Linked DNA regions of Homo sapiens: regions 2 and 3 are each linked to region 1. The links are contacts of gene promoters, found by promoter capture Hi-C in human tissues and cell types (Jung and others, 2019). All regions are on one chromosome and are shown on one strand. The core of a region is centred on a gene start or on the middle of the fragment in contact, and the rest is flanking DNA. Distances in the headings are between cores, read along the strand shown.

Region 1 (3,405 bases), core at 906-3,405:
TAATTTTTGCATTTTTAGTAGAGACGGGGTTTCACCATGCTGGTCAGGCTGGTCTCGAGCTCCTGACCTCTTGATCCACCTGCCTCCACCTCCTGAAGTGCTGGGATTATGTTAATTATTAAATCTAGGAGGAGGACACAGCTGTTCCTCCACCAGGCAGTGGCGCCCGGCCTGGTCCTTCTCCTCTAATGGCTCCTTCCCAGGCTCCACAGGCCCTTCTTCTTTTGCGTGTGCCTTTCATACTCCGCTTGTGTGTTCTCATCCAAATTCAGAGCTTCCTCTTAGTTAAAACTGCTGGTGACTCCCAAGTCAATTTCCAGCCCAGACATCTTCTGAGCTTGAGGCTTTGGTCCGGTTGCCTACTGGGCATCTCCACCTGGATGCCATGGCTCATGCCTATAAGGCCAGCACTTTTTGAAGCCAAAGTGGGAGGATCACTTGAGCCTAGGAGTTTGAGACCAGCCTGGGCAACACTGTAAGAATCCACTTCTAAAAAAATGAAATAATTTGCATTTTGAACAAGCACTTCAAATAACATTTCCAGCCAGGTTTAGGACCACTATTAGTTACAATGTTAGTCCAATAAATTTGGAAATCTAGATGAATTTTTTTAACAGGTTGTAAGTGACCACAGGTTGACCCTGAAACCTCATAGGTTAATAAGCATAGCAGAAATGAAAAGGTTTTTAAAGATCTTCCTGCTACAAAGCCAAGTCCAGATAGTCTCTTAAGCTGCAGAAAGACCATAACTGCTATGTATTTCCCCCCAATTTTTTTTTATGAAAGCTTAAAATTTTAAACTTCTACAAAGTTTTAATCTAGTACCATGAACAGCTGTGTCCTCCTCCTAGATTTAATAATTAACATTTTGCCATATTTGCTTTATCTTATGTGTTTTCTTTTTGCTGACGATTTTCAAGTCAAACATTCTGATGGTTCATCCCTAATACTTCCTCATTTTCTAAGAGTAAAGAATTGTCACAAGCACAACACTATAGCACACAAAATAATTCAGAAAAGCATCAAATATCTCGTTCATATTTAAATCTCCCTAGTTGCCCCCAAAATGTTTTTATAGTGTTCTTTTACAAACCAAGATCTGTTTCAGTATAAACTATTCTGGGGCATTCCAAAAGGTGGTTAAGTTTTGGATTTTTGTTCCACAAGTCTGACAAGGCACAAAAACACAAAACACGAAAATTAAAAAGCAATCTAATAAATAAAAATGCAAAAATCATAGTCTATAGGCTGGGCGCAGCAGCTCACGCCTATAATTCCAGCACTTTGGGAGGCTAAGGCAGTAGGGTCTTGAGCTCAGGAGTTTGAGACCAGCCTGGGCAAAATAGCAAGGCCCCACCTCTATTAAAAGTAAAAAACTTAAAAAAAAAAAAAAAAGAAAGAAAGAAAGAAAAAGAAAAAAGGAAAAGAAATAGCTAGGTGTGGTGGTGTGTGCCTGTAGTCCCAGCTACTTGGGAGGCTGAGGACGGAGGATCGCTTGAGCCGGGAGGTTGAGGCTGCAATGGGCTGAGACTGCTGCACTGCACTCCTGACTGGATGACAGAGTGAGACCCTGTCTAAAACAAACAAACAAAAAAGGATATTAGCAAAGAGATGACAATGTATTCGAGGACTGACTTGTTGAGGGCATGGCGTTGAACCCTCAGCATCTTTCCCGTTGGCCTAGCAGCCTTGTAGTCAGATTTTACAGACGTCTCGCGTGCCTAAACCAACCAGGGTCATTCCGTCCCCGTCACAGAGACTTGTTCAAATAGCTCAAGCCCATCAGCATACGGTGTTAACCTGGCCACAGAGGTGATTCAACCAGCTAGAAGTTCAGTCCTTTTGCGGAGAATCAGCAAACGCTACAAATCAGGGCTTTCCTCCCTGAAAAGTCTGGTTGTTAAGACATTCACCAGCACACCACCTCGACTTAGGCCGTTCCCTTTTGCCCTTTGCCTTTCGAGGCATGCTTTTTCCGGACTGTGTTGCAATTAACCATTTCTCGTTGGTCCGTCCTGGTGTTACAGGCGCACTGGAATGAACGCAGACCCTTCTCTCCTCCCGGCCGGGGCCAGGAGGAGGGGTGGGGCGGGGCCTCTGACGCGGTCCCCGCCCCACCGTAGCGACGCCGCGGTCCGCCGGATCTCCAGCGCTCAGTCCGCGCCGCAGGTGGTGCTTGTCTGCAGAGTCATGACCTGTAAGTGGCGCGGCCGCGCGCTGCAGCTCGAGTTCGGGCCGCGGGGGAGGCTTTGGAGCGGCGCCGGCGGTGGCTCGGCCGGCTCAGCCCCTCCGCCCCGCGTCCCCGCCGTGCGCGGCCTTCCCTGAGGCGGGCGTCCGCGTGGGTCCGGGATCGCGTGGCCGGGCGGCCGGGCGCACTCCCGGGATTCCAGGCTTCCGGGGTGGCGGGCGAGGCCCAGAAAGCACCAGGCCACCCGGCCGCGCCGGCACCCGCCGCGTCCTGCTTGACAGAGGCTGATGGACGTGTATTTCTCCACGGTGTGGGCCGCGGTGGTAGGATCCAACTCCCTTGGGTGTTTTCAAGTTGCGTGACCTCCTCCAGCCCCGCCCTGCACAAAGGTGCCCAGGCGGTTCTTCGTCTCCCCACTCACTTTCCAGCTCCAGATTTTGACTTGGATTCTTGCTGTGTCACTTACTTTGTTCAGTGACTTTGTGCAGCTTTCCCCCTGCAAGTCCCCTGTTTCTTTATTTGTAAAATGATGTTAATGATACCTCACACAATGATGTTAATGTGTGAAGGACCTGGCACATTGCTTTAAATGTTATTCCTTTGTTGTTTCCTTCGCTCACAGTATTTTATTCTTTTTTTCCGCCCCTTGGTAAGGTCTTCGTTGTTAGATTATGATGAATATTAGGGCAGCCTTAAAAGTCTTCACTTTACAGATGAGATGGAGTGACGGGCGTCTCCTCCTCAGCATGAGGAACTGCCCAGTGGCGGGGTTTCCCTGCTGCAGCATGTCTGTAGAGTGGGTCATTTGCAGAATGATAGGCAGTCCTAAGCTTAGTTGAGGACCCCGCCCTTGTGGGTGAGATGTGTAGGAGAGGAAGCCATCAGCGTAGCCATGGTGAGCTTTATCTTTCCCACCCTCGGAAGCACAGACATGGCCCGGCACGTGGCTCACGCCTGTAATCCCAACAGTTTGGGAAGCTGAGGCACGAGGATCGCTTGAGTTCACGAGTCAAGAGTTGGAGACCAGCCTGGGCAACATGGCGACACCTTGTCTGTACTAAAAAATACAAAATTAGCCCGGTGTGGTGGCACGCCCCTTTAGTCCCAAACTACTTGGGAAGCTGAGGAGGGAGAATGGCTTAACGCTGGGAAATGGAGGGGAGACGTTTAGTGGATTTATCTGCTGTTCTGATAACAGCTCAAAATATCTGTTTGCC
Region 2 (3,271 bases), core at 645-3,144, 260 kb before region 1:
CCCCCTGGGCCTCCAGGCACAGACTGTGGAGAGCTCTTCGCTGCTTTCCCAGGCCAGCTCCAAAATGCAAGGCAAAGGTTTCCGTTGCTGAATCCCTACACTCTGGGAACAGACAAGATGTCAATGTTGTGGCTTTATTAAAAATCAGAGGCTTTCTTCCCTTGTATTAACTTGTTCTTTGAAATCTGTTTTCCAGAGGCCTTTTCTACTCTAAAATGTAACTTGAATACCCATCTTTCTGCTACATTTTTCTCTGTGGATCTCTTATCATGTTCCAGAAATCATTTTGCAAATTTATTCTATAGCCAGTATGTTTGGCAAAATTATAATAAAATAAGCTTTCTTATTTATCTAAAAACTAGTAAAAACTATGCTTGAGAAATACATCTTTCTGTTGAAGTTTGGTTCCCAATGTTTCTTTTAATCTTATTTTCTATGCATGTGCAACATTTGATTTTTTTTTTTTTTTTTTTTTTTTTTTTTTTTTTTTGAGACGAAGTCTCACTCTGTTGTCCAGGCTAGAGTACAATGGCACGATCTTGGCTCACTGCAACCTCTGCCTACTGGGTTCAAGCGATTCTCTTACCTCAGCTTCCAGAGTAGCTTGGATTACAGGTGCGCACCACCACTCCTGGCTAATTTTTGTCTTTTTAATAGAGACAGGGTTTCGCCGTGTTGGCCAGGCTGGTCTCGAACTCCTGACCTCAAGTGATCCACCAGCCTTATCCTCCCAAAGTGCTGGGATTACAGGCATGAGCCAACATGCCCGGCCTGATTTTCTTTTATAATAATGATTTTTTATAAACCTTTGTTTGTATAAAGCTATTTTAATTGCTTATATTTTTTTAGGATATATTTTATTGGTCTATGTTAGTTCCCTTTGTTTTGGTTTATCCTGGGGTCAAACCCAGATTCTCCCTACAAGGATTACATTAGATAGAGATCGTCAAAACCAGAAATGATCAACCTGAAACACTTCCTGGTCAGCTTTTGCTAAAAGAAGATATATCAATGCAATATGATTACCTTTCAAATAATGGACTTCTAATGACACAAGAGAACAATCTAGAGCATGCTAGTTGCTGCCACAGAAATGGATACAGAGACAACCCACAGTCTGGTTCTCATCCTCGTGTCCTTTACCCTACAGGAGAGAAGGGCTTATGATAACGAGCAGAGATTCCACTTTTATTTTAGGAAGCTTAGAGGTTAGGAAGACCATAATTTGTTCTTTAAACATCTCTTGCATTTTTATAAGTTCTCTTACCTTCAAAGCTTTATTCGAAGCTTCGGGTTTTTGCTTTTTACTTCATATCCCAATCTTTGTCTTCTCTTTTCTTTTTCTTTTTTTTTTTTTAACTGTCTCCTATACCCACTGATGGCAGACTCTGTTTTCTTTTATCTTCTTTTCCTTATTACACAAGAATTAAATGAAGCAACATCTATAATATAAATTCTCGGAAAAATTACACAACATGGTAATAACTAATTATAAAGGCAATTTATAGATTTGGGGAGAATTTCATCCCACAGTGATAGTAACATCGTTGGACCTGAAACCAGGACCTATTGATGACTGACCTGGGGCAATTTATCTCTGAGCTTGACTTTTCTTATCTATAAACTTATCTTAAACTCTACAAGCTTCTTGAGCTAATCCTTCTGGGGTATTAGGATTCGATTCAGGAGAGCTGAGTTGGAGCCTAGAAATCTTCATTTCTGATAAGCTCTCCAGGCAATAGGCCCTCAGACCTCACTTTGAAGACACAAAACTATGTAATTTCTAAGATCATTTCCTGCCTAAAATTCTGTGATTCTGAGTCTTCTTTCAACTACATGGCTTTGGGCAGGGCTGATGCTTCCTGGAAACTCACTGTTTCATCTGCCATATGTATAATTAAGAAATATATTTGTTAGTTATCTTGCCCGGAAAACCCTTAAAAATGTAAACAATAATTTTGATCAGAGTTAAGTACCTCTTTTTGTCACTGCTCAGTGGAGGCTTGTCTGTTTCATTCCTTTAATCTCTCATCATATGCTTATCTCTGTAAATATATTTTTCCCTCTCTAAAGGCCTCTCAGATGCTTTTCATCTTTCTGAAAGAATGTTTAAAGCCAAAGTCCAGGTGCTTACACTTTTGGACTTAATAACTGAGCTGTTTTTACTCACCACCCGCCCAACACCCTTCTTTTTCTTTTATCATTGTCAGCATGTGCTGAGCCCCTCTGATGGACAGCTTCACATCTACTTTATGCTTTGCTATTTCTGTTATATTGCAAAATCCTATCTAATCTGTGGGTTACAGTATCTATCTGGTTGCTTTTGACATGCTTTCGAGGTTTCATCCCCACTGAATGTCAGTCTTCTGAGTTATTTTTTCCTGGATACTTGTACTTAATTGTATTTTGCCAGACTGAACTCACTGTGTACTTTACTGTTCATTTTTCTGATCTCCAGGGATCCATGAATATTGTTTGACTTCACCTCTGTTTCTTCTACCATCTCCACCTTTAGTGCCATGTGAGGAACTTATTAATGTAACGTCTTCTCAGATTTCCAGGTCATTAATAAAGTTGTTTAATAAGATCTTTTGTGCAGCCTGGGAATTAGTCAGACTTACTCAGTATTTACAGCTCTGCTATCATTTCTTGCCCACTATTATGTCCTGTGTAGTTAAGGATGCAATAGAGACAAAAATTACTTTTCAAATTACAGTTCCTGCAAGAGATGTCTCTTCCCAGAAGACCCTTTACTGTTCCACATAAGAAATCAAAACTCTCATTTAATTAGAGAGGGCTTTCGGAACAAGGCTGGCCAGGGTACGCTTACATAAGCTTGTTTGCAGATTCCGGTTAGGTCTCCCAAGGTCACAGACAGCTGTGTTTTGCATTTAGCGTCCTTTGAAAGAAGAGTGGATGCTTGGATAGCTTGTACTTGACATGCAAAGAACTTAGGAACTGCATACTTTCACATGTTGCTCGTAGGTTCCAAGCAAATGGGAACACACCATCATGCAGAAACTCTCTATCTGCCGTTATCCTGTGAGCTCCCAATCAGTGATGCATGGTGTTCTTAAGAAGTAGACTCAGGCAACAGCCAAAGTCATTTCTTTCTCTTACAATCTGAGAAGCAAGTATGTTTGTACTTCACTGAGAGTGTTTCAGGACAGCAACCAGTTTAAAAATAAGAGTAGTTAAACAAAAAAGGTGGTTAGCTATTAAGCCATGGCTGGATTTTATAGCACAAAAAGTTAATGCAAGGCAGTGTGTA
Region 3 (3,194 bases), core at 293-2,792, 430 kb before region 1:
TTTCTTATTATGATGCATTCCTTTAGCCTTAATGAGCATAACTAATGCACTAGAGTTAAAAATGGAAATCTCATATTTTAAGATCATATTGGAAATTATTCTACCTAAATCTTTTTACAAAGTTTTCCATGAATTATATTAATGACACAACTAAACAAGTTATTGTATATAAAGGATTTAGTTTTTTTGTGAGATCTAAATGGTAGCTGTTGTGATTGCTGTTGTTGCTTTTTTCTAGCAGTTTCCTAACCCCTATTGCATTCTTCAGCAAACTATTTCTAGGACAAAGTACTAGGAATCTGACATAAAGTACACTGTTCCTGAAATTGTTATGATAGATGCTTTGGACTCCCACCTCCTTGATTGTGATTCCATTATGGTCCACCTTCAGGGCATCTTTTCTTAATGCACATTAACTCCCAGGGTGATGAACCAGACTCCCTGGGTTTGCATGTTGAATTGCATAACTTCTCTGTGCCACCGTTTTCTCATCTGTAAAATGGGAATGGTGAGAGTACCTTCCTCATAGGGTTGTTATATTTAAATGAGTTACAAACTTTAAGTGCTTAGAGTAGGGCTTAACTAGTTAGCTGTTACTAGTACATTCCTAAGGTGCTAAATACGGTGTTCTGGTTCTACTGGATCTTTGAAATCGTATAATTCTGAGGTCAGAACCAACTTGTCAGGACTTTAGGATGAAATAAATATAAATGTATGTGAAAGCGATTTGAAAAGTTAGTATGTAATACATATCTAGAACAGTGTTTCACACATAGCAGGTATTCAGTAAATATGTATTGGATGAATTAATTTAAAAATTAAAAATATTATATATAATGGTGATATCATTAGTAAAATTTATGACTACAGGATGGAAGTCAAAACCACTCAACCTCCTTGAGTTTGAGACAGAATATTCAACTCATCTACATTGATGAGGTGCAAAAAACAAAGATGGTGATGATGAGGATATTAATAACAACTAACACATACCTGGTGCTTCTTGTATGTTAAACACTATTTTTAACCCTTTATATTGATATAAATTAATTCATTTAATCTTTACAGCAGCCCTATAAGGGTTATCCCCATTGAATAGATGAAGAAACTGAGTCTCTAAGAGGTCATAAATAACCAGATTTCAGATGAGATAGAGTGCGTTCAGGGTGGTATGGCCATAGACAAGATTTCAAACCAAGGAAGTTTGGCCCCAAATGCCATACCTTTAGCCCTATGTTATAACTAAGGTGTAATTTCATAAAAGTTATTTGTTCCAACCATTTCTTCACACACTTAATATTCATCAGAACTTCCATAAAGTACCAAATGGGCTGATCATTGTGTAATCTTCCCTCTTTCTTCTTTTCCACGCAAGTCTTAAGTGCTGATACTCAAACTGAGCTGCACGTTGGAACTACCTGGTGTGAGCTTTTAGCACAGTTGCTGTTTCAGCCTCAGAGATTCTGACCTAATTGATGTGCCCCGGTTATCAGGTTTTTTAAAAGCTTCTCTGGTGATTCTTACATGTAGCAAAGTGTTAGAAGCACTGATCTAAAGGAAAATGAAATTGGCCTAGGCCCTAGAGTATGCCTGAGGGGAAGGGGCATGATGGTAGTAGGATCTGGACCCTGGAGAATCCAGGAGTTGAAACTCAAGCCAGTTTGCTTTGCTTCTTATTGATAATTATGAAGGCAGGCAGGGAATACTGGGTGGAAATACTGGATAACATTTGGTGTGGAATTTACCAAAGGATTAAACTGTATACAACATTCTTTTAACTTGTTATTTAATACAAATCAAGTAAGCTTTAGTATTGCTTTAAGGATTGGGTCTTAGATGGTCATTACAAATCTTCAGGAAAGTGTTGTTTAGAAAAACAAAATGGCTACACGTTGAAATAGGATAGTACCTTCCTTTAGAGATGCCAACTTAATTGCTCCAATGAGAAGAGTAGTCTCCCTTTACTAAACTGTTTAGGAAAATTGATATTTATTTCTAATGTTTATGGTTTGTTGTCTCAGAAGATTAATGCCAAATCCTCAAAAATGTAGTGACAAGCGATGACTCATTTTAGCTCATGTCAAAACAATGCACTTTTGTAATTTTCCTGTCCCTGGAGAAGCTATTAAACACTGAACAAAATGCCTCAGAATGAAACTGATTGAGTGTTTCAAATTATGTACTTTTGCTTGGCTATTAGCCAGATGTTCGTCGGGAAAGCTCACTGTACATCAAGGCCTATGATTTGTGCTGACAATAATATTACATAGTTTACACTGCTTAAATATCAGCGATGTGTATTCTAAAGCTAAATAGTCAAAGTTCAGTCTCTTTGCATAATCAAGTTGTGTAACTCTACTCTCAGCCAAGTGATTTTTCCTTTATTAACTCTGGACGGGATGTAAGTAATGGGTAAGGTATTTTTCTCTGCATTATCTTGTTGATAAATAGCACAGATTCCAGCTAGGTTAGGAAGAGTCTCAACACACACACATACACACACATTTTTAAGATTTATACATTTGATTTTTTTGTGAGTGGTACCACCTGCCTTGTCCCTAGTAGAGCTCAGCATAATGTTTTTTGTGTAGTAGGTACACAAAATATGTGTTGCTGATAATGATGCCAATAAACAAAACAAAACACAGAGTGTTTTTTTCATTAATTTCCTATAATCTGCCAGTAATATATGAGGTCTTACAAGAATCAGTGTTAAGCCAACTATGTTTTATTTTTTAGAGACAAAATATTTAAATGATTGGCTTGCTTTCACTGACCTCCTAAGTAATAGAAATATTCATGATGTTATATTAGACATTTGTGGAGGACAATAAAATTAGTGTAACTGACTCTTAGTATTCGAGACATTCTTAGTACCATGTGACATTTTTTTGAGTAGGAATTTGGGGGCATGGTCTCTTGACAACCAAAAGTATGAGGTTACTCATAACAGTTTCTATTACACCCAGCACCTGGGAAAGAGTCAGTGCTGAATAGATATCTGTTGAATTGAACTGAATTGAACAGATATTCAACTCATTCTCATTTGCTCATGTTTTACAAGAAGCAGTTTCTCAGATGCATTTCCATGGGAGGACATGAAAAAAGGTAGTGAAAATGAAATACCTTCTGATTCTATGGCATGGTAATAGGAAGTTATCTTGATATATAAGGGTATCTAGCTGTCAGCTCAT

What was found. Contacts are between HindIII fragments. The study calls those that stand out against the background at their distance.
Region 2: a contact is called between a fragment that was not itself captured here and the fragment with the promoter of NIT2 in region 1, in 2 of the 25 tissues and cell types used here (lymphoblastoid cells and thymus).
Region 3: a fragment that was not itself captured here is called in contact with the fragment with the promoter of NIT2 in region 1 in 2 of the 25 tissues and cell types used here (IMR-90 fibroblasts and aorta).

Annotation. Positions count from the first base shown.
Region 1 is chr3:100,332,602-100,336,006 of GRCh38, forward strand. It overlaps NIT2 (nitrilase family member 2), which reads left to right and starts at 2,156. Exons shown (of 10, transcript NM_020202.5): 1 at 2,156-2,197. The coding sequence starts at 2,191. RefSeq lists enhancers at 1,924-2,492, 2,586-2,635, 2,656-2,715, 2,836-2,915 and silencers at 2,156-2,485, 2,884-3,178. The HindIII fragment of the contact is 4,697 bases long and covers 1-3,405 here.
Region 2 is chr3:100,074,222-100,077,492 of GRCh38, forward strand. All of the region lies in intron 1 of CMSS1 (cms1 ribosomal small subunit homolog), which reads left to right. All of the region lies in intron 1 of FILIP1L (filamin A interacting protein 1 like), which reads right to left. Among named protein-coding and RNA genes, the nearest start is that of FILIP1L, 39 kb to the right of the region's middle. RefSeq lists an enhancer at 1-326. The HindIII fragment of the contact is 3,831 bases long and covers 1-3,271 here.
Region 3 is chr3:99,899,333-99,902,526 of GRCh38, forward strand. All of the region lies in intron 1 of CMSS1 (cms1 ribosomal small subunit homolog), which reads left to right. The region is part of intron 4 of FILIP1L (filamin A interacting protein 1 like); the gene reads right to left. All of the region lies in intron 1 of LOC105374010 (a long non-coding RNA gene), which reads left to right. Among named protein-coding and RNA genes, the nearest start is that of MIR3921, 63 kb to the right of the region's middle. The HindIII fragment of the contact is 3,066 bases long and covers 10-3,075 here.